Linked DNA regions of Homo sapiens: region 1 is linked to region 2. The links are contacts of gene promoters, found by promoter capture Hi-C in blood cells and fetal thymus (Javierre and others, 2016). All regions are on one chromosome and are shown on one strand. Each heading gives the region's core, a stretch centred on a gene start or on the middle of the fragment in contact. The rest is flanking DNA. Distances are from core to core; before and after follow the strand shown.

Evidence for each region. The method cuts DNA at HindIII sites, captures the fragments that hold promoters and counts their contacts. A CHiCAGO score of 5 or more calls a contact.
Region 1: a fragment that was not itself captured here is called in contact with the fragment with the promoter of PFDN5 in region 2 in 8 of 17 cell types (erythroblasts, fetal thymus, M2 macrophages and 5 more); the score reaches 8.3 in erythroblasts.

What each region holds. Positions count from the first base shown.
Region 1 is chr12:53,375,052-53,378,382 of GRCh38, forward strand. No RefSeq gene overlaps it. Among named protein-coding and RNA genes, the nearest start is that of SP1, 3.5 kb to the right of the region's middle. The HindIII fragment of the contact is 5,800 bases long and covers 1-3,331 here.
Region 2 is chr12:53,293,578-53,296,829 of GRCh38, forward strand. PFDN5 (prefoldin subunit 5) reads left to right here and starts at 1,965. Exons shown (of 6, transcript NM_002624.4): 1 at 1,965-2,062; 2 at 2,262-2,364; 3 at 2,667-2,698. The coding sequence starts at 1,991. It overlaps ESPL1 (extra spindle pole bodies like 1, separase), which reads left to right. Exons shown (of 31, transcript NM_012291.5): 31 at 1-61. RefSeq lists enhancers at 1,648-2,187, 1,673-2,872. The HindIII fragment of the contact is 3,517 bases long and covers 1,409-3,252 here.

The DNA.
Region 1 (3,331 bases), core at 655-3,154, 81 kb after region 2:
TATATTCCAGGCCCTGAGAATCCAAAGTGAAAAGGCATCATCCCTGCCCTCAAATCGCTTAATGTAGTTGGGGAGACAGGATACTTAGATACCTCTAATGGTGGCAAATAAAAGGAGCACAGTGGCCAGTGTATTCAATAACTGAGGGGGGTAGGAAAGGCTTCATAGAAGTCATTCTTATAAAAGATATGAATTTGGCCGGGTGCAGTGGCTCACGCCTGTAATCCCAGCACTTTGGGAGGCCAAGGCAGGTGGATCACAAGGTCAAGAGATCAAGACCATCCTGGCCAACATGGTGAAAACCTGTCTCTACTAAAAATACCAAAATTAGCTGGGTGTGGTGGCGTGCGCCTGTAGTCCCAGCTACTTGGGAGGCTGAGGCAGGAGAATCGCTTGAGCCCAGGAGGCGGAGGTTGCAGTGAGCCAAGATCACGCCACTGCACTCCAGCCTGGCAACAGAGCGAGACCCTGTACCCCCAACAAAAAAAAATGGTTGGGCCCGGTGGCTCATGCCTGTAATCCCAGCACTTTGGGAGGCCGAGGTGGGCGGATCACGAGGTCAAGAAATCGAGACCATCCTGGCTAACATGGTGAAACCCCGTCTCTACTAAAAATACAAAAAATTAGCCAGGCGTGGTGATGGGTGCCTGTAGTCCCAGCTACTCAGTAGGCTGAAGCAGGAGAATAGCGTGAACCCGGGAGGCAGAGCTTGCAGTGAGCCGAGATCGCGCCACTGCACTCCAGTGTGGGCCATAGAGCGAGACTCTGTATAGAAAAAAAAAAGATACGAATTTTAAGCAGGGCATGGTGGCTCGTGCTTGTAATCCCAGCACTTTGGGATTGAGCTCAGGAGTTCAACACCAACTGGGCCACATAATGAGATCTCAACAAAACATCAAAAAGTTAACCAGGTAGCCAGGTGCAGTGCCTCACACCTGTAATCGCAGCACTTTGGGAGGCTGAGGCGGGCAGATCAACTCAGGTCAGGAGTTCAAGATCAGCCTGGCTAACATGGTGAAACCCTGTCTCTACTAAAAATACAAAAATTAGCCAGGCATGGTGGCACATGTCTGTAGTCCCAGCTACAAGGGACGCTGAGGCAGAAAGAATTGCTTCAATCTGAAAGGCAGAGGTTGCAGTGAGCCAAAGTCGCGCCACTGCACTCCAGCCTGGGAAACAGGGCAAGACTCCGTCTCAGGAAAAAAAAAAATTGCCGGGCGCAGTGGCTCACACCTGTAATCCCAGCACTTTGGGAGGCCGAGGTGGGCAGAGGATCACCTGAGGTCAGGAGTTTGAGATCAGCCTGGCCAACATGATGAAATCTCATCTCTACTAAGATACAAAAATTAGCCAGGCATAGTGGCGTGCACCTGTAATCCTAGCTACTTGGGAGGCTGAGGCAGGAGAATCACTTGAACCTGGGCGGCAGAGGTTGCAGTGAGCTGAGATCGCACCACTGCACTCCAGGCTTGGAGACAGAGTGAGACTCTCAAAAAAAAAAAAGAAAAGATAGACACTGCGTGTGTGCATGTAAGGGATCTGAATAGCCTTGATATAAGTTGGTTTTTTTGTTTTTGTTTTTTTTTTTCAGTCTAAAGAACACTTTTTCAGGTTTTTACAGAGCAATTGGACAAGATGGATCATGTCATTCATTTGCTCTCAGGGACTATCAATAAACTAGTATACGTCTAGGGCATTCCTCACTGGCCTCATGCTGAATTGTCTTCTTCTGGAGGAGCAAAGGGGAAAGGATTGTAAAAAGGATGATGGCTATTGAATTTCTGAATTTAGGTCTTTTTGTCAGTTTAATTTTATCCTAATTCCCAATTCGGGTGTAGTCTAGGACTATGGAAAAAACACAGGCTTTGGAACTAAACAGAACAGTCATAATTTAACTAAAATATCTGAGCCTCAGTTTTCTCATCTGTAAAAGGGGACAACTATCTCTTAAATTGGTAGGAATAATTAAATTAGATAAATATGTGAAATGTTTAGAATACTCCTCCACGGTGTTAAGTTTCCTCTCCCTACCTCCACCCCTAAGCAAGTTTAGGTATGGACAGTTGCTGAATGGACTAAACAGCTATTAGAATCTTCAGAGCTTGGTTTACAAAGATGAGTAATGCAGTTTCTTCCTTCCAGGAAATTTCTCCCTTTCTGGAAGTTTCTTTTCCCCAGTTTCTTCTCTTGGTGTTTTTGTTTTGTTTTGTTTTCTTTTCTTTTCTTTGAGACCAAATCTTGCTCTGTCGCCCAGGCTGGAGTGCAGTGGCATGATCCCCGGTCACTGCAACCTCCGCCTCTAGGTTCAAGCGATTTTCCTGCTTCAGCCTTCCGAGTAGCTGGGACTATAGGCATGCACCACCACGCCCGACTAATTTTTGTATTTTTAGTAGAGATGGGGTTTCACCATGTTGGTCAGGCTGGTCTCGAACTCCTGACCTCCAGTGATCTGCCCGCCTCTGCCTGCCAAAATGCTGGGATTACAGGCATGAGCCACTGCGCCCAGCCTTCTTGGTGTGTTTTAAACTAGGTTTAGGGCCTAATCACTTGAAAGAGCTACTTAAAAATAGGTTTAGGGTGGAAATCTAGGAATCTGCCTTTTTTGAAAAAAGAACCCAGAGGATTCTGAGAGTGTGTGACATTTCATTTTGAGAAACCTTGATACAGTGAGAGATGAAATTAATTGTCATGTATTCTGATAAATTTTATAATAAAGGTATCTAAGAGGATGATGCCATTTGATCCGTCCTGGGAGTAGGCTTTTTTTTTTTTTTTTCAGGAGCTAGACAGTAAAAATTAAAAAGCATCTATATATTTACTTTTTTTTTTTTCTTTGAGATGGAGTTTCACTGTCGTTGCCCAGGCCCGAGTGCAATGGCACGATCTTGGCTCACTACAACTTCTGCCTCCTGGATTCAAGCGATTCTCCTGCCTCAGCCTCCCAAGTGGCTGGGATTACAGACATGTCCCACCATGCCTGGCTAGTTTTATATTTTTAGTAGAGACGGGGTTTCTCCATGTTGGTCAAGCTGGTCTTGAACTCCTGACCTCAGGTGATCCGCCTGCCTCGGCCTCCCAAAATGCTGGGATTACAGGCATGAGCCACCGCGCCCAGTCTATATATTTACTTATTTTGGAGCAAGGTCTTGCTTTGTTGTCCTGGCTGGAGTGCAGTGGCAGGATTTGAGCTCACTGCAGCCTCAACCTCCTGGGTTCAAGCGATTCTTCCACCCCAGCCTCCCGAGTAGCTGGGACTACTGGCGCACATCACCACGTCTGGCTAATTTTTGTTATTTTTTGTGGAGACGGGGTTTCACCATGTTGCCCAGGC
Region 2 (3,252 bases), core at 715-3,214:
GTTTTATATGAAACATTTCCTTTTGATTTAACCTCAGTATAATAAAGATACATCATTTAAACCCTGTTTTGCGTAGTTTATCTGAGAACATTTAAAGACACGGCATGACTGCCCCCTTCCTACTATGTGGTACTGTAAGCTGACAGGAACAGGTTACAGCAGATCAAGTTTGAGTGCTTGGGGAAGAAAGGCAAAGACACAGGACAAAGCCTGCTGGGCCTGGCTGGGCCTCAGCAGACAAATCTGGAGGAGAAAGGGGCATCAAAATGCTAAGTAGAGACAGGCCCAAGGAAGGGTAGTGATAGACCCTTTGAGAGTGTTTTGGCCAGGTACCATCCGTCCGTCCTGTCTTCCTGCCGCAGGTATCTTTGGAGTGGCACTAGTGTTTTGTTTTTTGTTTTTGTTTTTTTTTGAGACAGAGTCTTGCTCTGTTGCCCATGCTGGAGTGCAGTGGCGCAATCTCGGCTCACTGCAACCTCTGCCTGCTGGGTTCAAGCGATTCTCCTGCCTCAGCCTCCTGAGTAGCTGGAACTACAGGCACATGCCGCCACGTCCCACTAATTTTTGCATTTTTAGTAGAGACAGGGTTTCACCATATTGGCCAGGCTGGTCTCGAACTCCTGACCTTGTGATCCACCCTCCTCAGCCTCCCAAAGTGCTGGGATTACAGGCGTGAGCCACCGCGCCCAGCCATGGCACTAGTTTTAATGCCTCAGTTGCCCTGCCTGCCTCCTAAGTAGATGTTAAAGGCTACTGCTGTCTGCCCATGTACACCTGTTACACTTACCAATGTGTAACTTTAGCAGTAGAGTCTGTGGATCTGTGGAGTTCTAGTGTGGTTTTTCTCTCCAATTGTTAAGCTCAAGGGAAGCAAGTATCTTACACTCTCACGTATCCCTCACATACAGCACATGGTAAAACCTTTTTTTTTTTGAGACAGAGTCTAGCTCTGTTGCTAGTGTGCACAATCACAGCCTACTGCAGCCTCAACTCTCCAGCTCAAGCGATCCTCCCACCTCAGCCTCCCATGTAGCTGGGACTACAGGCGTGTGCCACCAGCCCGGCTAATTTTTGTATTTTTTGTGGAGACGGGGTGTCGCCGTGTTGCCCAAGCTGGTCTCAAACTCCTGGGCTCAAGCAATCTGTCCTTCTCGGCCTCCCAAAGTGCTGGGATTGCAGGCGTGAGCCACCATGCCCGGCCAAAATATTTTATTGATTAATTTGTGCTGTACTTGGTTGACAATGGCGCTTCCTTGCTGTTCTCCCACCACCTCACTGGCAACGGGTGATAAACCCTTTTTCAGATCCTACTACGTGTCAGCCTACTTCCGGCTGGGGGAAGATGGTTATAGCGAGAGGGGAAGAATTGGTTCAGTGATGAGAACATGGTTGGTTCCTGCCTTCGACAAGCTTTCAATCTAATGCCTGTTTTTTTCCAAGGACAATTCAGAACGGTCTGACAAGGGATTTTTTTTTTTTTCCTGCCTTTCGGCCTCAGAGGCCATCTGGGAAAAAGAGTTTAGAATTTCCCTGCCATTTCCATGCCGTGCTGGGAGGAACATTTGAAATCGGGCCTGGCGGGGTACCAGCAGGCAGCAATAGCAAGCGGGGTGGAGAGGAGCAGGGCCAGGCCCCCGAGCCGTCGCCATGGCAATCCAGCCTGCTTTCCAGTAGCTTATACCACCCACGTGGAGTAGCATACACTACTTTGTAATATCGTGGTTGTGTCGTGAGAACTTTAAGATTTTGCAGTTCCTTGTAGGCAGGAGTCCTGTTTGCTGCTACTTTACAATACTAGGCTTAAGACATTTTATGAAATGAACTCACACAACAGTCTCTGAGAGGCTCAAGCCCCTCCTTCCCTTCCGGGACGGAGGATCATAGAGCTGTCTGGCGCAGCGAGGCCTCCCGGCGCCACCGAGACGCGCAGAGGACGGCTAGAGCGTTGCTCGCCGAGAGACTTCCTCTTCGTTAAGTCGGCCTTCCCAACATGGCGCAGTCTATTAACATCACGGAGCTGAATCTGCCGCAGCTAGAAATGCTCAAGAACCAGCTGGACCAGGTGGGGACGGGCCCCAGAGGCACCTCTTTCCTGCTCTACATCCCCCTTGCCCACGCGTACTTCTCGCGCCCGGTTCCAAGTTGGCAGCCTACCTTTCCCAGGCGAAACCTCTATCCGATCCCAGGACCTGCCCCCTCCCCGGCCGCGCTCCTTTCTCCCCTTAGTCCTCTCATTGACCCGCTATCCCGGTCCTCTGTAGGAAGTGGAGTTCTTGTCCACGTCCATTGCTCAGCTCAAAGTGGTACAGACCAAGTATGTGGAAGCCAAGGACTGTCTGAACGTGCTGAACAAGAGCAACGAGGGTATGGGGTAGGCGGGTGAGGGTAACCTAAAGTGGCGAACCTGCTTCTCTCGTCCCACCTCCTAACCCAGTTTTTCTTACCTGAAACGAGAAAATCCATTACATATCGTATACCGCTTCATGAACCCTTTGCATGTTGCCTGCCTAGAATTGAAAAGTACAGGACATTCCTCTGCTCCTATTGCCCCTGTTTCCGTTCTTTTCACACTGTCTGTGGGTGCTGTGCCCTGTTGGAACTCTCTTTAACGTCTTACGTTGGAGCCGCTAACCTTCCCCAGGTGTTTGTCTTCATTGCTTTCACAGGGAAAGAATTACTCGTCCCACTGACGAGTTCTGTATCCTTTCCACAGGAACGGCTACCTGCTGCCTTCTCCCTTTCTCCTTCACTCCCCCAAAAAGCGGGGAGGGGGATTGTTTTGATTACTTCAGATTACCCTCTCCTCACAATGATTTTGAGGATACCCTTTTTTTTTTTCTTTCTTTTTTGAGACGGAATTTCGCTCTGTCGCCCAGGCTGGAGCGCAATGGTGAGATCTTGGCTTACTGCAACCTCCGCCTCCCGAGTTCAAGAGATTCTTCTGCCTCAGTCTCCCGAGTAGCTGGGACTTTAGGTACGCGCCACCACGACCGGCTAATTTTTGTATTAATAGTAGAGTTGGGGGTTTCACCATATTGGCCAGGCTAGTCTCGAACTCCTGACCTCGTGATCCGCCTGCCTCGGCCTCCCAAAGTGCTAGGATTACATTACAGGCGTGAGCCACTGCCCCCGGCCAAGAATACTCTTATTACACACTTTGTAGCTCTTTTATCTGACTTCACACCAACATCCAGCTAATGTCTTGTGAACACCAAGGAGTATGTATAGTTGAGATGTAATATTTCCCTTTGC